Linked DNA regions of Homo sapiens: regions 1, 2 and 3 are each linked to region 4. The links are contacts of gene promoters, found by promoter capture Hi-C in blood cells and fetal thymus (Javierre and others, 2016). All regions are on one chromosome and are shown on one strand. The core of a region is centred on a gene start or on the middle of the fragment in contact, and the rest is flanking DNA. Distances in the headings are between cores, read along the strand shown.

Region 1 (5,107 bases), core at 1,453-3,952, 680 kb after region 4:
AGCAAAGGGAAATGCATAGGCCTGCCTTCTCTCTCATCTCATTCTGTTATTAAAAGCGAGTCCTTAAGAGTTTGTCTCACTGGGTTCAATTTTCAACACACAGGCTATTCAAATGCTCATTCTACATTGAAATCAGCATGGAATGTGTAATAACAGGAAAGAGAAATATACAGACTCTCTGTGCTTGGCATGGCAATGTGTCACGTGGCTTGAAAAGGTATGTCTGGGAGTATCATATGGCTGTTACTCAGCCTGGACACAGAAGAGCTTTGTATGGCATCCCTCACTGTCCAGCCCCAAATAACAGATATTCAGCTGAGCTGGCTCACATTGACTGTGAGAAGTTTCAATCTAGTTAATGAAATATTTTTTCAACTGCAAAATATTCATTTTTGTCCAAAAGAAAAAAATTCAATCACTTATTTTTACTCCCAATCCAAGATCATGTTTCAATCTTTTGATTCAGAGGACCCAGGATTACACCTTAAATATAATAACTCATCTTCTTAATTTTCAAAGCATGATTGCTTGGAGTGCTCTCTTTTAAATATATTCTTATGTGATAATTAATTCCCATTAATTAAATGCTTGTAAATGCTACAACAACCCTATGAAGGAGGTACTATTTTTCAAATGTCAAAAAATGAGGCTTAGGATGTTGAAGAAACTTGCCCACATTCACAAAGTTAATATTTGGGGATCTTGAATTCAAATGCAAGGCTATCTAATTTCAGATACTGACAGTTTGGCTGTGTGTCCCCACCCAAATCTCACCTTGAATTGTAATAATCCCCACATGTCAAGGGTGGGACCATGTGGAGATAATTGAATCCTAGGGCCAGTTTCCCCCATGATGTTCTGGAGACAGTGAGTTCTCACAAGATCTGATGGTTTTATAAGGGTCTTCATTCTCTTGGCACTCATTCTCTCTCCTGCTGCGCCGCAAAGAGGTGCCTTCTGCCATGATTTTAAGTTTCCTGAGGCCTCCCCAGCCATGCAGAACTGAGTCAATTACACCTCTTTTCTTTATAAATTACCCAGCCTCAGGTATTTCTTCATAGCAGCATGAGAATGGACTAATACAGGTACCAAGTTTTTTTTACCACCATACTACTAGCCTGTTAGAATAGACCAGTGTTGACTGTCTTCAGTGAAAGACAAAACCGAGATGATTTATTCTAGAAGTGTTCTTATGACTTATTTTTCTAAGTCACCAAGAAAGCTGTACCACATAGCAATGGGATGGATTCATGAGCCAAGGACAGTATTCATATCATTTCAAGAGAAGGATAAGCAGAAAATCCTTGGAATAGCTTAGGAACCTAGGAGCCAGAAATAGCAAATCTCTTCTTGCTGCTTCATATCAGAGGTGATAGAAAACTGCACTGCCTCTTGGATCATGTACCCCCAGAAGACTGTCAATAAGAATTTTCCATGATAAAGTCAATTTCTGACAATCGCAGATTTTTCACCAAATCTCTGATTTGTCAAGCATTATTGAAGAGCTCTTTCAAGTTAAACTGATTTGGGGGAAGGGAGATGTCATTAAAATCAGTGGGATTAGCCACTTGGAAAATAGCAAAGGCTGGGAGGCTGCTACAAAAGAAGCTGGCAACACATGTGATTCTTTGGATCACTGGCCAGTCCTCATGGGTTTTCTCTTCAAAAGACACAGCCATAGCCATGAGAAAAAGAACCCAAACACAACACTCACAACAAAATTAAAGTTGTCCTAAAACTTGGCTTCCTTACTACTGGGACATAGGATCCAGATCTTATCCCATCCCACATCACTCAAAAAAGGATATTTTTTTCCCACAGTTTTACAACTTGTGAGGTTCTTTTTTCTAAAGATGTAAGAGAAATAAATTGAGAGGCTCTGCAGTTAACTTCCTGTTTTTCACAAATGCAGCTATGTATTTCTCTAAAAAGTCAACTGGAGCCATTTCACTATGAACTTTATCACTTGGGGAAAGAGCCAAAACAGCTATCAGGTCTTATATCTTCATCCGAGCTATTTATGTCTAGAAGCCAGTTATTTTAAGTGACATCAAATAAACAATTTAACCATGATAAACACTTGGGACACTCAGCTGCTGTCCCTCTCTTCTCATTAGTATGTGTAATCATATGCATGCATTGTATATAAATGACAACGATCCTTCAGAGTCAAAAAGACCTTGCCCACGGTGTTGTCCGCATGGAACTGTGACTGGATGCTTCAAAGCAGTGCTCTCTTCTCTAGGCATATGTGAGTATCCCGAACTGATGTGGCCACACTGGGGCCTTTTGAGATTCTGGCTGCCTACCACATTGCTCTAGAGTGGCTGATATTCCTTAATACCCCACAGTTTAGTCTTTAGGCCATTAATTAAGCTTCAGTTTTGTAGAGCTTGTCTACATATATATGTAGCTATGCTCTATGATGCCCCTACTGTATCCACTAACACATCTTTTAGCCTCTCAATACCTATCATGGTAACAGTCCCAAGAAAAAGTGGCTCAAACTTAGACTTTGGGTGGAATAATTCCTGCTATTGCTGATTGAAACAGGAATCATGGCATAAACCAAAGTAATCCTATCTAGGCCTATATATGCTATAAATGTATTAGAAAGGCCCCCAACTCAAAACTGGCTCAAATGCTGGCATACCAGCATGTTTCATATCAAATAGGCAAAAACCAAATCACATCCCTTGTTTGGAGAAGTATAAATACTTCAAGTCAGTGGATCACTTCAAGTCAGGCTGTTGTTGCAAACAAAGCAGAGGTACTCTGTTGAGTCTTATTTGTGAATCCTTGAGAACCAGAAGGATTGCTTCTGAAGCATTTCCATAATACCACACATTGCTGAGCTTCCGTGCAGCAATTGCCTGTGGTGAAGCAGACTTACACACATCTCTTTAAAGAGGCTAAGACATCATCTATTATTTCAGTCTCAAAAAAGATTGAGAGGCTTTCAATCTCAAATAAAAAGTAAATATTTTAATTCCATTTTAAAGATGGAGAAACAGGCTCAAAAAGCTTAAGTGGCTTGCCCAAAGCCCAAGAGGGAGTAAATGGAAGAGGCTCTATGTGCAGGGGGCAGTGTCATGTTCTTCAAAGCCATGATGCTGTCGGAGTCTCAAAGGCTAACCCTACATAAAAAGGAACAAAGAGGATGAGCAGGAGGGAATTGTTACCACTCAGGTTCCCCTCCTGGCCCAGTGCTGTTACACTGGCACCTCCTCCAGGACTGCAACTGTTGAATCCATCCTGGAATGGTTTATTTGCCCATCTTTAATCCATCTAAGCCCAGTTCTTTTAGATTTCCAAGTAATAATCCACTAACTGATGAAGACGTCCAGATTGCTGTGATGGAGCAGGGAGGCCTCCTTCCCTCTTGGGGCCATCATACTCCTCTAGGGCCCTGTCCAAAGCTCTGTCTTTGGACTTTTACTCTAATATTAAAGAATCAGTCATGGCAGAGAGGAAGGCAGTGTGATTGCAGGCTGATGGTGCTGATAATATTTTGGGATCAGTGAGGCCTTATGACATGCTTGGAGAGTATCCTGTATGACTACCTACTTGTGGTTAGCTTTGGTTGTTGAACATACGAACACACTATCATCATCCCCAGACATGTTTTTAATAATAAATAGTGAGGCATTCTCGCCAACATTTAAGGTTTGGGGGAAAAAAAAAAAAGCTCTAGAGAAAAATACTTTGAAAGGATGTTTTTGTAGGGCAGCCGCCTTTGCTGGTTGCTGTCAGCAGGGATGGCTATTAGCAGGACATCTAAGAAGCTGGAACAGAGAGTTATCCTGGGATTTGTCCCCTGCCTCTGGGAGGAAGAAGGTGATTAATGCACCCTGCAAGTAATAAAAGATCAGCTGAGAAACAATCCTGGGGCTTTGATAGACTCTACCAGCACCCCATAAATGAGACTAATAAAAAAATATCCATCGAAGAGGCTGGCACATGCAGGTCTCTCAATAAATGGGAGCTCTTATTGTTTCTTATACATTGATGAAAATAGCAGAAGAATCTCAGATGGTGATTTACTCATGGGAGCACTTGGCAGATTTCCACTGAATACCATACATTAGATAAAAACCCAGAAAGAAACCCTAGATAAACATTGGAGAGCCAAGAAAATAAAAGCAATTATCTAAAATGTGATTCCTGCCTCCAGTCACGCTAAGACTGTGTCTATTTTTACAGCATTGATCATAATCTGAAATTATCTTTGTTCACTGTGGTATCTCCAGAATCTAGAACAGTGCCTGCCTGGCATACAGTATGTGCCCCATAAATGTGCATTGAGTAAATACACAGATACATACTTACAGTGTTGAATGAATATATATCAAGTCAATCAATAACTATTTAGAAGCTCAATAAAGCTACATTTAGGCTATGTGACCTTGGACAGTCACTTGATGTCTCTTTGATTCATTTCTTCATCTATAAAGTAATTATAATACCAATCTCACCAGGTTGTTATGAAGATTAAATAGTTTAATACACATGAAAACAATGTATAAACCATTGGTACAAGGCAAGTATTAAGACTATTACAATAGAAATAAACAGAGTGAGATAATGGGATTATTATATACTTAAGACCTGAGCTTTACAGAACTGATCCCAATGGGAAGCAGGTCCTCATTTTGAGTCCCACTTTTTCTAAATGATTATTTAATAAGCATGCTTCTCCCTGATCTCAGAATGTGTATATATCTTTCCCACTGCCTATCTTGGCACTGTGCACATGTAACAATGTTAACGTCTTCTGCCTAACTCTTACTCATCCCTGAAGACCCAATTCAGGGGCTGCTTCCTCCCAGAATTTCCTGATGTTCTGCCTGAATTCTCCCAACTCCCACACTGTGACTAAGTTGGATCTTTCTCATCTGTAATCAGAAAACTGTTTTGCCTGTTTCTTTGCTTAATCATCAGGACTGGACCATGAACTCTTTGAGAATTGTGGCTTTCCTCTGATTATCATCTGAACCTAGAACAGTGTCTGATACAAAGAATTCAGTAAGTGTGGAATAAATTAATTATGAATGAATGAGAATTGGAAAGGCCTAAGTTTCCATGGGTCAGCATAGCAGAAAATTCC
Region 2 (4,759 bases), core at 1,566-4,065, 590 kb after region 4:
CTTTTTTGTCTTGCTTACTGCCTGTGAGCCTGCTGTAGGCCTTCAGTAGAAAAGGATGCTTTTGAGTCTATGTGCTCATGCAGTATGTCATTTTGAAGAAAGTCAGCTGCAGTCATAACTGCATTCGCTAAATTGATAAATTCTTTGTGTGAGCTTTGTTCCTTTCCATACAATTCTTTCAGAGGCTCTCTCACCTGTCAGAGATTCTGGAGAGAAAGCTATGAATTCAAGAAATCTGTTTAAAAATATGTCCATTAAGAAAACTCCTCTTTGAAAGCTGAGTCTTCTAAAAACTCTTACTATCGCTTGCTAAAATTAGTTTAATGCAAATACATTGTATAATTGAGTTTAATAGTGAGACTAAGTAGAGAATATTTGCCTAAAATGGCCAAAAATGGCTAGGAGAAGTTTATTCCTATATTACCTATTCTTTGCCTCCTTTTTTGCTTTTTTTCCTCATCTTTTGGCCAAATAAATAAAGTACTGGAGAACCATCCATTCAAGTCCGCTTTGCCAGAATATTTTTCTGGAATTTTCCCTTCCATTCCACAATCCTACTAAGAAAAATTTCATATTAGTGAGCAAATATTTCCCTCCTAAACTGAAATTCTGTTATTTTAGTTCCCACTTGCCAAAGGCAGCGTGATTTGAACATTCCTCTTCACTTAATATCAATCCCCATCAGATAATCATTAAATGAACAGAGGCTGCAGGTTAGAAGGAATGCTAACAATGCAGATAAAGTCCTCATAACTGGCAGCTATGAATTAATTCAGCCAGATCACAGCCCAAGAGGGAGACTGTCAAAAGGAGCAGAGGGGGCTGGGAGAGTTGGCTTTAGTGCCTATAACTTACAGCACCTTCCCCTAGGCCAAGCAGCCTGGCATTTCATATCTAAAGTCATCACAGGAATGAGATGAATTCCATTGTCCTATCTGGCGACTGCTCACCATGGCAAGTCAACCCTCTGTGACTGTTAGAAAGGGAAACAGTCATGTATTTTCACCCACAGGAATGAATTAAAGTGACTGACTGTGAGGGAGCAACTGACCCAACTAGGGGACATTAGGCAAAAGGTCAGTTGACCTCTGGAGCCATTCCATTTCTGGTTTAAGGCCTTGAGAGAATACATGAACAGAGCCTTGGGGAACCAGAGTTCTAATCTTACCCCCTGCTCCTCCTTTCATCTCTCTGAATAGCCTGCTTGTTGATTGGAACTTACCTTCACCATCAGCAAGAACTGACTATTTTGAATTTCTGAGCTCCATGGCCAAGCTCCGCTCGCTTTGGGTTGCTTTGTGTCCTCAACTAACCATTTCAGGCAGGGAAATGTTAGTGTATTCCTGAGTTTCACCAGTAGATGGAAGCATTTTTGACCGTGTGACACTTTTGGCTTCCTAGTCCTAGGAAAAAAAACAATCTTGGATTTCTAGGAAGAGCTGCGAAGCTGAGGCACCAGACCCTTTGTCTGACACAGTGCCTTTTCTGTGTATAAAATACCTTTCCATATTTAAAAAGTGTGAATATTTTGAGAAGAATCAGAAAAGAAGAAATTAGGAAATGGTCAGAGTTTACTTTCAATAGCAACAACTACCTATGTCTCTTAAATCTCTCACACTATTAATTAAGCAATGTAAAATGAAGATCATGATTTATAACAACTTCTAGTTTAGAACAGATATAGTTCTATAGTTCTCCTTAAAGCCCAAAGTATCTTATAAACAAAACACTCCATCCTTAACCAAAGGCCAATGGGAGGAAATAGTTTGACATATGTACTCTGCTCAGCTGGCTGCTGGATTCTAGAGCAAATAATCTTATCATTGAGACCTTATTATAAAATTTCCTTGACCTATGTGTCCTAAGGTTGGTAGGTTTTATTTAGAAACCATAGAATATACTTAACAGAAATGTCAAGGAGATTGTAGGTTATTGCTAATCATTGGCAGTAATTTAAATATAGAGCAATTATGTGTCTTGACATAGTTGATAACTAGATTTTGAAACTGAAATATATTCACTTTCTCACTCTGTACCTCCTAAAGCTGAAACCCAAGGCATGTTCAAATAAAGCTTTGAATAACTTTTCTGCCACTGAAAGAAATTACATCTATAGCCTACGGTTTGAATCATATCAGAAGGAAGACTTGCAGCCCTTGGTGGTATTATATGTCTTATACTAGGGCATTCTTCAGCAAAAGCTCCAGTATTCTGTGATAGCTAGGGGTATCCCAGGGGCACTTTAGGGTATCTGCATATGGATCAACCTAGAAACTTTGCTGATATACTCTTCTAAATATGTTCTCTTCAGAGTAGAGGGGCTAGATAGATAGGTCATCTACATATATATAGTTTCTATATTAACATATAGATATGTGTGTATATATATATGTGTGTATGTGTGTTCATAAAAACACCGAGAATGAAAGGCCACATAACCACACAAGAGAGAATGCATCAAGCCAATGTGGATTTACTCATTTAATTCTGTAATCCTAGAGCTAGCCCTAGCTAGTGCTGACCTTGAAATAGAGAGTATTATGACAAATAAGAGAAGGTACAGTATAGTATTTCCATCCCACCACTTATTTTCTTCTCCAGATACTACTGACATAAGTCCTTTATTTCAGAGACAAGTTTCTTAAAGGAGTTGTCCGTCTCTATTTCTATTTCCTCACTTCCTACTCTTTCTTCAACCTACAGAAATCTAATATTTCCCCTTAACACCCTGACATTTCTTACACAAAGGTGATCAGTGACTTAGACATCCTTAATCTAATGGAAACTGCATTGATTATTTTGACTGCCTAGCAGCATTGAACATTATTCCTTCTTTGTCAAAACAATCTATTCAATTGCTTCTATAGCACACTCTCCTCTGGCATGAGCTTCCTCCATGCCATTTCCCCAGAACTACACTGTTGGCCTTCTACTCTTCTCACTTTATAGTCTCTCCCCAGCCCATTTTGTCCACTTACTACCTATATACTGATTTTTAATCTATGCCTATACCTCAAACTCAGATATGTCTCCTATACATAGACAGGTACTTAAGAATACATACTACAGTGTTTTTCAAACTGCAGATCCCAACCCATTAGTGAATTTGAAAGCCATTTTGTGAGTAGAGATAAGCATTTAAAAGTGAAATATGGTAGGGAATAGCATAGCATAGCATAGCATAGCATAGCATAGCATAGCATAGCATAGCATAGCATAGCATAGCATAGCATAGCATAGCATAGGAAATATCCAGTGACTCACATGTAGGTAGAATTATGAAACTTTTTTTTATTTGTGTGGAAGTATGGGATTGTGATGTTTTTTACTCTGGATCATGGTCAAAAACATTGAAAAGACACTGGTCCACAACTTCAAGATACTATAAATTAGGTAGCTCATAAACAACAGGATTTTTGTTCTCCCAATTTTGGAGGCTAGAAAGTCTAAGATAAAGGCACTGGCAGATTTGTTGTCTAGAGAGGGCTTGATCTCTGGTTCATAGATGGTGCCTTTGAGCTGTGTCCTCACATGACGGAAGGGTCAAACAAGCTTCCTTAGGCCTCTTTTATAGGGCAGTAATCCTATTGATGAGGGCTCTGCCATCATGATCTGATAACTCTCCAAAGACCCTACCTTTTAATACCATCACCTTGAGTGATAAGATTTTACTATATGAACTTCAGGGGAAACATTCTGACCACAGCACAGGGTAACATAAAAGTTGAGCTGAATTCACAGACGGTACACCTTACCAGACTGCTGAGGGATTTGGACAACACAATGTTTTAAGACAGCAACCAATCTATCCGTAGATTTCACCGTCTGAGAAATGCCAAATAAAGTATTGACCATTTGGACTATTCGGCTGACCTAGAATGGTTTTTCTTAAGTTCAGAGAAACCAGTTACCTAAATTCTGATCTTATGTAGCAGCCATGAGAGTTTCTACAGAAAAGATTTCCAAGGATTTGAGAAAATGATAATGATGCTATGAACCATTATTTTGGTAGCGCCTTGAAATTCATCTTTACTTCTCCTCAAGGGCTACTTTTCCGGGCTAAGGCTTACATAAATAAAGCAACATTTATCCGTGCATATACAATACACACCACCCTACTTTCTAATGTAAGATTTTACAGGCAGTTAATGGACTGAGACTTGATTTTATTTCTAGTAAGTGTATGAGTATGAGTGAAAATCCTGACTCAGACTCCAAACTAAGCTGATCTATTCAGTTTTTGCTGCTCCTCCCCAACAATAGAGCCAGATTCTAATTTATGCAATAGTAAGCATGTTCTTATTAGGAGGAAAATGAAGAAAGTCTTGCTAACAATTATCAGCAGTAATATCTAATTGAATCCATATATGGATTCATTTTCTGATCCAACCAGAGGAGTTACAAGTTTGCCTATGAGGCAATGAAACATTTTAGTTATTCCTGAGAATACCAGGGTCTAACCAGCTAAACTCAGTGAAAGCAAATCAGGCTTTTCGTTTGTGGTTGCCTACCATAAATTTTGATTCAGCCTTGAAGGGTTAGTGTTATTTCTGAAGTTACGTTGACCTTACTTACCTAAACCACAAAGTAAATAAAAGGATGTCTAATGAATACATAGTCTTTCAGAGGGTTTCTCGTTGAAGGCTGCAGTTCTCAATTTCTATTGATCATAATTTCTATACATTTATGGAATGGAGAAAGTCTGCAGCTCTTCTCTTGAGGTTATTCAAGGCAATTGATTCATATAGAAATACCCATC
Region 3 (5,164 bases), core at 437-2,936, 520 kb after region 4:
AAGCTTTTGCAAAACCTCCCAGCCTTCCAAGAAGGTTTTTGTCTTTCCCTATAATTTTTCCCACCACCCTGACCAATCTCCTACATACAAACACAATAACTTACCATCCATAGCCCTCACTAAAAGTACTATTAAAAGATAAAGTTAAGCCAGAAGGAATGTGAAACCAGGGAAACCACATGATAAAAAACAATAGGCAGAAATTGATAAAACAAGTAATTCTAATTAACACACTGTTGCTAAAAAGTAAATTTTTGTAATATGAAGAGAAAAGCTAAAATGTGTTGCTGCAGGGAGGGACATTTAGTTTTAAATATGTAGTTTTAGTATGTAAAGCTCTCTATTGTGATTAGTAGAAAAAGACAAAGGCTGATTAATTGTAGGCCTTGTTGCACAAATTTATATTGAAGCAAATCTGTTTAAATATTTAAAAGTAACTACTAAAATAATGGAAAACAATTTCATTGCATTGAAAACAATTTCAAATTGCACTGAGAAAATGCTGCTACTTTTCACCTGTTGGTTTGGAGGCAATGGAATTTTTATCTATTATTTTAGCGATTGGAAATATACACAATGTAAATAAGTGAACAACATGCAAAATGGAGACAAAAGAGGCAAATAAAAAAGGCATCTAAAAGTGTAATATGATGGGATAAATAATTGCAAATATATTAAAAATCCAATAAATAAAAGTGGGTAAATCTCAATATTATAAGAAAATAAAAGATCAGATTGAATTTCCAGCTACATTCTGTTTACAAAACAACATAGAAAGAGCAAAATAAATACATAAATTAAAAAAACATGGTCTCATGAACAGCCCACAGTGAGTGTTTCATCAGTGGCAGCACTTCTTTCAATGGTGATTCAGGAACCTAAGCTTTTTTTTATCTTGAGTCTCCTTCATCTTCAATACATTACTCCCAATTTCATTTTGCTTTGGTTCACCAAGTGAGTAGGAAAGAAAGAATGGATAATTGGGCATTAGAATATTTTTGTGTGTGGACCTGGAAGTCTCATGCATTACTGTCAGTCACATTCCATTGGCTAGAACTCACTTAAGAGCCCTAAGTCAATGACATTAGAAAGGAAGCTATTAAGAAAGGTAGCCTACTGGATGCCTAGCAAATAGAGGAAAGGGAAACACTCTGTTTTTCTATTCTCAATATTTCACATCTGACACCCAAGTGTCTGGGTTTTTCTCTCCCATTAAGCAATTCCTCAATTCTCTGTCATACCAACTGGGTGTCCTACAATCTAATTCAATTCATTCTAACGCTGTCCACCTGGAGTTAGCATCAGCTCCATCACAAGTTAGAAAGCTCAGTCCCACACAGCTGCCCACCGCTTCAGATGCCAGTTGTAAGTCCTAGGTTGTAACCTGTATTTTTGACCAACTGGCTATAAATCAGGGCTTCCTACAACCCCCTCCTTGGGTTTGGTAATTTGCTAGATTGTCTCACAAAAGTTAGGGAAGTTACTTTACTTGCATTTACCTTTCTAAGGCTTCCTTTCTAATGTTTTATTATAAAAGATAAAACTCAAGAACAGCCAGATGGAAGAGATGCCTAGGGCAAAGTATTGGCAAGGGGGTTACATGCCCTCTCTGGGGTGCCACACTTCCAGCAACCTGGAACCCCTTCCATTAGGGTTTTTACTGTAGGCTTCATGACATAGGAATGATTTGTTAAATCATTGGCCAATGGTGATTAACTCGGCCTCCAGTTTCTCTCTTCCCTGGAGGTCCGGGGGTGGGGCTGAAAGTTGCAGCCCTCTGATCGCATGGGTGATGTTACACTGGCAACCAGCCCCTCATCCTTAGGAGCTTTCTAAAAGTTACTTCACTAATATAAACTCAGATGTGGTTGAAAGGAACTTGTTATGAGTAACAAAAGATGCTCCTGTCACCGTTATAGCTCCAAAGCTATTTCAGGAGCTGAAGAGTTTGTTATGATTATTGTGGGAATGGTTGACTAAGCCAAAAATTGGTAAAAGAGGTAGGGCATAAGCATTGGGAACTGGTAGTTAGAAAACTGCTATATGATGCTGATAAATGGCAACCTGTGTTACAGAGTGGAAAATATTTAATGAAAGTATTGTTTGCTATTAACATAATGAACTTCAAGGTTTTAAGGCAGAATATTGCAGTGGTAAGCTGACTGCTGCCAGCTGCCTTTAACGAGATATTAGAAGAGAGCTGAAAATTAATTGGCTGAGGTGCAAACTGAATTTATGAAGGATTGAGTGACTCAAAAAAGCACTTGAAATGTTGGAATGGGAAACAATTTTCAAGTCAATGGTGTGACCATTATGACATAGACTCAAGGAAAAGACCAAACCCAGGACACTATCAGTAAGACATGGCCTCAAGGTAAAGGACATACTAAGATTTTGGCTACTAAAATCCCTTGTGATGACTTCTGAAAAAAGTTCTGCTCTGCCAAAGTGTTCCTAGAAAGATTAAGGGTATGTCCCACAGAAGCTTGATATGCCCAAACTCTCTGTAATTAGGTCTCAAGAGAAGGTGCAAGTCTAAATAGTATTGTGGATGTAGCTTTTAGCCCATGGGATTGAAGAGAATAAAACAAAATAGTATGAGATATTTATCCTGACAAAAGTGTCATCCTTCAGCCTGAGTAAAAGGAGACTAATAGTAACTAAGATGAAAAAAAAAAAAGTACTCCTAGACCTCAACTTTCTGCAGGCAGGAAGTAGACTGATAAAACTGCTAAGTTGCTAAGAATGAAATATACTCAATGCCTTCTTCAGAAGTGATTTAAAAAGATGGAAAAAAAAGAGAGGGCACAACCAAGCACCACAGGGAAAATATGGGCTGGAGAGCCATTCCAGTTTCAAACTAGAACCTAGTGAAGATATATTCCCTAGCCTCAAAAAAAAAAAAAAAAAAAAAAAAAAGTACTTGGCCATATTTGTTCAGTAGTATTCAAAATCGCTATAAGCCAGTGGCTGCTATGTGTTATTTTCTTTTTGTGAATGGGAGAGTTCATTGCAGTTATTCTTCCCATGTTTCATCATTGCTGGGTGTGTGGGAGGCAGATAACTTGTCTTTTTAGTTCTGGAGTTGCATCCAGACCCAACATCGATAATTAGGTTCTTGCTTTAGAGCCTAATGCTTTGAATGAGTCTTTTGCGGGTATAATAGAAAGGGATTGAGTGAACTTTGTATAAAATGTTATTGTAACTAAGAGCATAGCCTGTGGTAAATTTCATTATTGGTCCCAATATTTCACCCCTCCCTGCAACCACACCCATTGCTAATAGGACACTGCAGTTCTTCCTACTAGAGGCAGCACATATTTCCCTATTCCACTGATTCTGAGCTCGTCCATGTGTCCTGTTTTGGCCATTAGAATGTCAGCAGATGTCACATAATCAAGACTTGAAGTGTTCTAATGAGTTTGGACTTGCTCGCTTTCATTTATGCCTTTGTCCTGGGTAGCCTACTGCTGCCAGAATTATGGCAAATGTGTGAAGCCAACTTCACACAAAGTCTGTATCCAAACTCAGCTGAGCACAGCCAACATCAGCCAAGCTCTAGTCAAACCAAAGGTGTTTAAAATATAAATAATTCTTTTTCGTTACAACTCACTGATGTTGTGGATTGTCTTAAGCAATATTACTGTGACAATACTTCATTAAAAGACTTTATTTTTTCCTACACAGAAAAATTAATGCTAGACAGTTTATTTTTATTTCAACAGTTTTTGGGGAACAGGTGGTTTTTAGTTCCATGGATAAGTTCTTTAGTGGTGATTTCTGAGATGTTGGTGCACCTGTCACCCAAGCAGTATACACTATAACCAATGTGTAGTCTTTTATTCCTCACCCCTCTCCCACCCTTCCCCCTGAGTACCCGAAGTCCATTGTATCATTCTTAGGCCTTTGCATCCTCATAGCTTAGCTCCCACTTGCAAGTAAAAACATAAAATATTTGGTTTTCCATCCCTGAGTTACTTTCCTTAGAAAAATGGTCTCCAACTCCATCTAGATTGCTGCAGATGCCATTATTTCATTCCCTTTTATGCTGAGTAGTATTCAATGGTGTATAGATACCACATTTTCTTTATCCACTCATTGGTTGATGGGCATTCAGGTTGGTTCCATAGTTTTGCAATTGTGAAATGTGCTGCTATAAACATGCGTGTGCAAGTGTTTTTTTCATATAATGACTTCTTTCCCTTAGGTAGATACTCAGTAGTGGGATTGCTGGATCCAATGGTAGTTCTACTTTTAGTTGTTTAAGGAACTCCATACTGTTTTCCATAATGGCTGTACTAGTTTACATTCCCACCAGCGCATAAAAGTGTTCCCTTTTCATCACATCCATGCCAACATCTATTACTTTTTAATTTTTAAATTATGACCATTCTTGCAGGAGTAAGGTGGTATCTCATTGTGGTTTTAATTTGCATTTCCCTGATAATTACTGATGTTGGGCACATTTTCATATGTTTGTTGGCCATTTGTATATCTTCTTTTGAGAATTGTCTATTCATGTCCTTTGCCCACTTTTTGATGGGGTTGTTTTTTTTTTCTTGCTGATTTGAGTTTCTGGTAGATTCTGGATATTAGTCCTTCGTCAGGTTCATAATTTGTTAATATTTTCTCCCACTCTGTGGTTTGTCTGTTTACTCTGCTGATTATTTCTGTTGCTCTGCAGAAGGTAGACAGTTTAAAGATGTAAATATGGAACAAAAATTTTTAATATATATGAATAAAAATAGAGAAAAACATTTTTAAGAATTTCTGAAATAAACCAAAAGCACAAAGCATAAAAATGATTAATTTTCCTACATTTAACTTTAACACTTTAACAAAAGACATCGAATATTAAGATAAATTATGAAGGCCAGATTGAAATATTTACTTATATTTACCAAAATATTATGCAGAATATATAGAACTAACACAATAAGAAAAAGAGAGCTAGACAACTAGAAACTAAGGCTAAACAAACTATAGCTAAACAAACTAGAAAAATTGTTGAAGGATATGAACAGGCCATTTACCAAAGAAAAAACTCAAATGACCGATAATCACATGGAAAAATAAAAAAAATCTCACTAGTAATCAAGGAAATATGAAATAAAATGATGAGATAGTATGATATTTTAGACTTTCAGAATGGCAAAATTTTTAA
Region 4 (5,358 bases), core at 2,752-5,251:
AAGCACTTTTTCCTCATCTATAGATCTGTGATCTGTCTTTATATTGGAAAAGAAAGGGAATTTAATGAAGTTGGTTCCCACAGCCAGTCATCTGTGATTTGTATTTAAGCAAATTCAAATACTTTGCTATTAATAGATAAGCCAGGTGAACCTCCAAACTCACTGGCCACTGGCATGCGGGGATGCTAGAGTGAATCACACACCTGGCAGTGCCATCTGAGCAAAGCAGACAGTAACATCCTAACAGTGTCAGACTAAGTGATTTGAAAAACAATTGCTACTGTACTAAAAGAACCTATGCCAAAGCTGAATATAAATCAGGGTTGGGAAAAAAAAATGAATGTTCCAACCAGGTTTTATTTACCTGACATTCAACACTTAGTCTTTGAACTAAGGTAGGTAAATTATTCAGATGTCTTAGTAGATTCATTCTCTTAGATACTTAGCCTGGGGTATAATTAATACTTTGATAAACCATCTGAGAGTTTAAAGAAGAACTTATAGATGCCATAATTGCATCTTAAAGAAAAAAAAAACACTTTGTTATCAGGCCATGGAACATAAAAAGAATCTCTGTGGCGATTAGGGTATTTCCCCAAAGATGTAGGTTCAAACAAAAGCCGTCGATTCTTATTCTGGCTGGTGAAGGTCCCTTACCTGACAGTGACACTCAGTGCAGCTATCAACAGTCCATTCCTCGTTATTTCTGTACTGAACTCCGTTGTGATAGCATAGGGGAGGCCGCCTCAGCTCATTGGCCAACTCTTTGTTCTCTTCAGTCTAAATGGGAGAGAATATCATTAGTGTCCCCCCGCATTTTCAGTCATTTGGGACCATCTGCGATAAACCTTCCAGGGTTCATGCTAACGGGCTGGGTGCAGAGGCCACTGACCACTTTGCGGATGCTGTCCTGCAGCGTGGTCACAATGGTGCGCAGGCCCCTGAGTTCCAGGACCATGCTGGACAGCTCATCACAGGAGATGCCGCAGATGGCTTGCAAGTCCTTTGTCTTGTGGCCAATGTAGTTAGTGCGGATGGCAGGGCTGGAACCATTCACCACGTTGTTGTCAAGGGTGAGGAGGACACTGGTAGCTGGCAAGAAACAAAATGAAAACTTCAAATAGATACTCTTACCAACCAGCCTCTTGAGTTCTTAGTGGTAGAAGACGTTTCATTTGGTGTGAAGGATGCAGGTAGAGGGGTTGCGTGTATGCGCACGTGTGTATACGTGTGTGTGTATAATACCCCTTGGAGTCACTTCTGTATGCCTCTTGATGATCTCACTGGGGGTAATTTATGTATAACCACTATTGCTAAATTCCTCAGTTTGTTTTTGGTGGAATTCCCCCTGATTCCCTATGTGCCCTAAAAATAGAGGGGTACTCACAGCTGGAGCAGCCTTTGTTCCTGAGGATGTCTTCTGGTGTGGTTCCAAAGACAAACCTCACATTCTGCAGCACCCCCTGTGGGCAGAGGACACACATTACTTGTAGAATGCAGAGCGGGGTGGGGATGGGGTTGGGGGAGACTGTCTGTATGCTAGGAAAAGCATACAATAGATGTTCTAAAAGCTTCAAAGAGCTGTCTTAAGATCACTATGTCAAAATAACACAGCAACATTAATCGCCAAACAACTTCAAAATCTTAATTGTGACTTCTGCCAAGTCTTGAGTATTTTACAAAGAATTCAGTTATCAGCCTACTTGGGTACACAGGAAATGGAATCTGATCCTAAGCCTAGAGGATATAATGACACTTTCCAGTGTCAAAGAGTTAAATGTGGGAGTTCAAAGCCACCGTTGCAAAGATCTAGAAGTTAAGGCACAGATGAAGCTGTAACAGCAACAACTAACTGCTATTTTAACCTTTTATGTGAGACCAGCTGCATCCCCATGAGGAATCCAATAGCAAAGTGGTACTGATTCTGCCCATAGAAAGTATCCATTTCAAACAAGATTAAAATTGGGGGAATGCATTTGAAATAAGCTCTTTTCTTAAGAGCCTAAGGAGTATCTAAGGCTTGAACAGGCTGACTGCTAAAGGAAAACCATTTCTTGTTTCCTTGAGTAGTTTTCAAAGTGTGCTTCCCAGACCACCGGCATCAGCATCACCTGGTACTTGTTAGAGTTGCAGTTTTACAGAATCCCAGACTCTGGGGCTGGGGTGCAGCAGGGTGAGCTTTCACAAGCCCTCCAGGTGATGCTCATGCTGCCTAAAATCTGAGAACTGCTGCGTTAGTTTACAGACAGGATTTCCTGTAGCCCTCCTGGCAGGTCACCTGTCTAGCAGATGATCCCACGGAGCAGGGCTCAGAGAAGAAGCCTCACCTGGAAATTGTCATTGACGCCCCCCTTTGCGATGCGGAGTCTGGCGATGCTGGCCAGGTCTCTGGTGAAGACGCTTTGGATGGGGACGTCCAACTCAGCATTCTCCATCTTTTCACAGTCGATGTACAGCTGGGCCCTGTCTTCCTGCACAAACAGGGTGATGCTCTTCCACTGGCCGGTTGCCAGGAGAGCTTCTTCCACAGACACCACGTGCTGCTTTCCTTGGACGGTCAGGCTGAGGTCCAGGGTGCCCGCCTTGCCATTGGACACCACGCTGAAGACCTGGCCAGAGTGGTCTTTCCGCTCCAGGGCCAGCAGCGTGCCCCGGGTCTTCTTCATCTGCCTCAGGGATGCCAGAAGGAGGAAACCCTTTTCTGCCCGCACAGCATCCACCAGGTCTTGGAACTTGTCATCAGGCACAGGGGGGATCAGGTTGGCATCCTCGATGCGGAAAGCTGGGCTGGAAGGGTCGGGGCCCTTCACCAGTCGGCGCCCAGACCCCTTGCGGGCGGCCCCGGTGAGTTCAAAGATGTCAAACACGCTGTTGTCTCCGCCAGACTCTGTTAGACAGGAGAGAACACAAAGTGAGCTTTCTAGGCTGGGACCAGCAGTAGGGGGCTGAGTCCTTAGGGGTGGAGACAAAGGGTTGGGGTGAAAACTCCTGGCAACCACTGAAAGAGGTGAATAAATACCAGGATCAGAGTGAAGCTGCGTCCTGATGTCCAGTCAGGCTCAAGAGGGAGAGGACAGCACGTGAGGGGGCACACCTGGGATAGCCAGCACCTCTTCCTTGTCCCTCCTTCCCCTAAAGGTGCCACACAAACTCACCTGGAATGCGGTTGGTGCCACACACATGCATCAGGAACAGGACGCCTAGTCCCCAGGCCAGCCCCATGGTGGAGCTGTTGGTGCCCAGCAGGGATCCTGTAGCAGGAAGCACAAGAGCCGAGGGTCAGAGATCAGCTAGGCAGGGAGGGACGGTGCGCAGAAACGGGGCTGGGCATGGGGACAGGGCCGGGACCATCCCTCTTTGACCCCGCGTTTGCTGAAATGAAGGACAACAGGATTACTTTCCAGAGAGCATGAGAGAGAGAGAGAGAGAGAGAGAGAGAGGTGGAGGAAAGAGATGCTGGTTTTAAAGTGTGGGGGGCGCAAGACCAACAATTTGGGGGCTTTTGGGAAGTCGAAGGTGAGCAAGATCAGGAACTGTAGTTTGGGGTTGCAGGGAGGGCAGGGGAAGTACAGACTCTTCCCTGGAGTGCTGATACAAAGGCTTAAGGAGGACTTCAGAGAGTAAGGAAATCTTGGGGTGTCCTGATGAGTTGGTTTGTGAACCTCAAGGCTGGAGAGGATGGCTCTGGAGCCTTGCCCTGAAGAGTCCTCCAGCGGCTGAGAGGAGCGGGCTGGGGTAGGCGAGCGGGGAGAGTGTAGGTTCCGGGGTCCACCAGAGGGACTGAAGCCTCAGCGCTCCAGGTGGATGTCCCGGGCAGCTTTGGTCCTCGGCGGCCGCCGGGGGCGACTTACCTGTGTGTACCGGAGCGCGGCGGCCGGGAGCGGTGGCGAGGGCGGCGAGGGCTGGAGGGGCGCGGGGAATGCCTGTGCGTCCGGAGTAGAGGTTGCTCCTGGAGAGCGACAGGAGCCCTGAACTCGCAGGCCAGCTCGGGCGCAGCGGCTGGCAAGGCGGAGGAGCCGCGCGCTTTTAAAGGGGCGCTCGCATTCCTGGGGATTCCTCCGGCCAATGGGCGGCGGCCGGGCAGGAAGCGGGAGGTGGGGGCCAGTCTGGGCTCCTCTCTCCGCCCCCCGCTGCCTGGCGCGCAACTTTCCAGCTAGAAAGTGAAGGGGGCGGGGGTCGGGGCTTGGGAGCACTAGAACTTCTCAGAAAAGTCGGTGCCCGCCCACGCAGCCTTGGCGCGCACGGGCTCGGCGCTCGTACTCTTGCGCCACGCGGGCTCGGGGTGATCAGCAAGCATCCCGAAAAGGGACGGGGCTGGGGAGACCACCTAGGAGGGCCCGCGGGGTGGCGCAGGGGCTTTCGGGCGAGCTGATCTCCCGGAATGCCTGGTTGATGGCGAGAGGTGGATACTAGAGACTGGGCCCGTTTTGTAAAAAGAAAAATGGGCCGACGGGGCGCAGGGGACACCAAGAGAGCCATTCGTTAAAGTACCTGCCCCTCGGGCCCTCGCTGACTCTCCTCCACCGTCCCCGTGGGGTGAGGACACGCGTCCCCCGAGCGCCTGTCCTGAGCTGGCCCCACGCCCGCCCCGGAGGGAGGTGAGCGCGGCGTCGGCGGGGCCGGCAGGTTGGTGCGCCGCGTTCGCCTTCGCTGCCTTCGGGCCCTTTCCTGCCGCGGCTGCCAGGGGGCCCACAGAGACGCCTCTCCCGCTGCCGCGGCGCTCCCTCGGCCGGCCGCTTGGGGGCGGTGTGCGTATTCTCATCAAGGGGCCCGGGGAGGACAGCTGCTTTCTACTCGAATTTTAAGGAAACTTACTCGTATCCAGTTTCCACAAGCCAAATTGAAATTGTGTCTTGAAAAACAGTTTTTGTGCCCACTCGTGCTTCTTAACGTGACTCCTGTTTGGAGAATTTGCAGAACCATCTGGCTCCAGAGTCTTCAGCTATTTACAGAGCAGACCCATAGAGTAATAAATTACTCTCTGCCTATTATTGTATTTCCCTTTTTCCTCCCTAAACGTTCTTTTCATTTTTCGGCTCCTGAACCCGAGGTGTGGGTTACATTTCTGTGGGTGCACACATTGCCATGAGTGCCGCTGCCTAGTGCTTCTGTCATTGAAGTCTGGTCTCCAAGCCACTGTCCCAAGCCAGCATGACTCTAGCTTCCTGGAATTCCATTCATCTCTTCGGGATGGGACGTCAGCCGCCTCGCTCCCTCTGCTGTGATCCAGCGCTATCGGGCTCGCTCCGAGGCCAGGGCATAGGTAGAAGCTTGACCAAATAAGGATCTCAGCACGGGCAGGGGGAAACCCCTGGGGTTCACCTCCCATCTTAGCACTTAAACCTGGCAGGACTCCCG

What was found. The method cuts DNA at HindIII sites, captures the fragments that hold promoters and counts their contacts. A CHiCAGO score of 5 or more calls a contact.
Region 1: a fragment that was not itself captured here is called in contact with the fragment with the promoter of THBS1 in region 4 in 1 of 17 cell types (endothelial precursors); the score reaches 7.2 in endothelial precursors.
Region 2: a contact is called between a fragment that was not itself captured here and the fragment with the promoter of THBS1 in region 4, in 1 of 17 cell types (endothelial precursors). The highest score is 6.4, in endothelial precursors.
Region 3: a contact is called between a fragment that was not itself captured here and the fragment with the promoter of THBS1 in region 4, in 1 of 17 cell types (M1 macrophages). The highest score is 5.2, in M1 macrophages.

Annotation. Positions count from the first base shown.
Region 1 is chr15:38,894,572-38,899,678 of GRCh38, reverse strand. It overlaps a transcript of LOC105370777 not described here. Among named protein-coding and RNA genes, the nearest start is that of LINC02694, 200 kb to the right of the region's middle. RefSeq lists an enhancer at 4,812-5,107. The HindIII fragment of the contact is 648 bases long and covers 2,379-3,026 here.
Region 2 is chr15:38,987,929-38,992,687 of GRCh38, reverse strand. All of the region lies in intron 2 of LOC105370777 (a long non-coding RNA gene), which reads left to right. Among named protein-coding and RNA genes, the nearest start is that of LINC02915, 260 kb to the left of the region's middle. The HindIII fragment of the contact is 1,479 bases long and covers 2,076-3,554 here.
Region 3 is chr15:39,056,821-39,061,984 of GRCh38, reverse strand. The region is part of intron 2 of LOC105370777 (a long non-coding RNA gene); the gene reads left to right. Among named protein-coding and RNA genes, the nearest start is that of LINC02915, 190 kb to the left of the region's middle. RefSeq lists an enhancer at 1-71. The HindIII fragment of the contact is 1,602 bases long and covers 886-2,487 here.
Region 4 is chr15:39,579,722-39,585,079 of GRCh38, reverse strand. THBS1 (thrombospondin 1) reads right to left here and starts at 4,001. Exons shown (of 22, transcript NM_003246.4): 1 at 3,852-4,001; 2 at 3,156-3,251; 3 at 2,328-2,887; 4 at 1,388-1,463; 5 at 893-1,092; 6 at 658-780. The coding sequence starts at 3,222. It overlaps LOC124903470, which reads right to left and starts at 5,273. Exons shown (of 1, transcript XM_047433405.1): 1 at 4,086-5,273. The coding sequence starts at 4,762. The coding sequence ends at 4,328. RefSeq lists silencers at 4,461-4,510, 4,521-4,750 and an enhancer at 4,173-4,910. The HindIII fragment of the contact is 3,699 bases long and covers 1,574-5,272 here.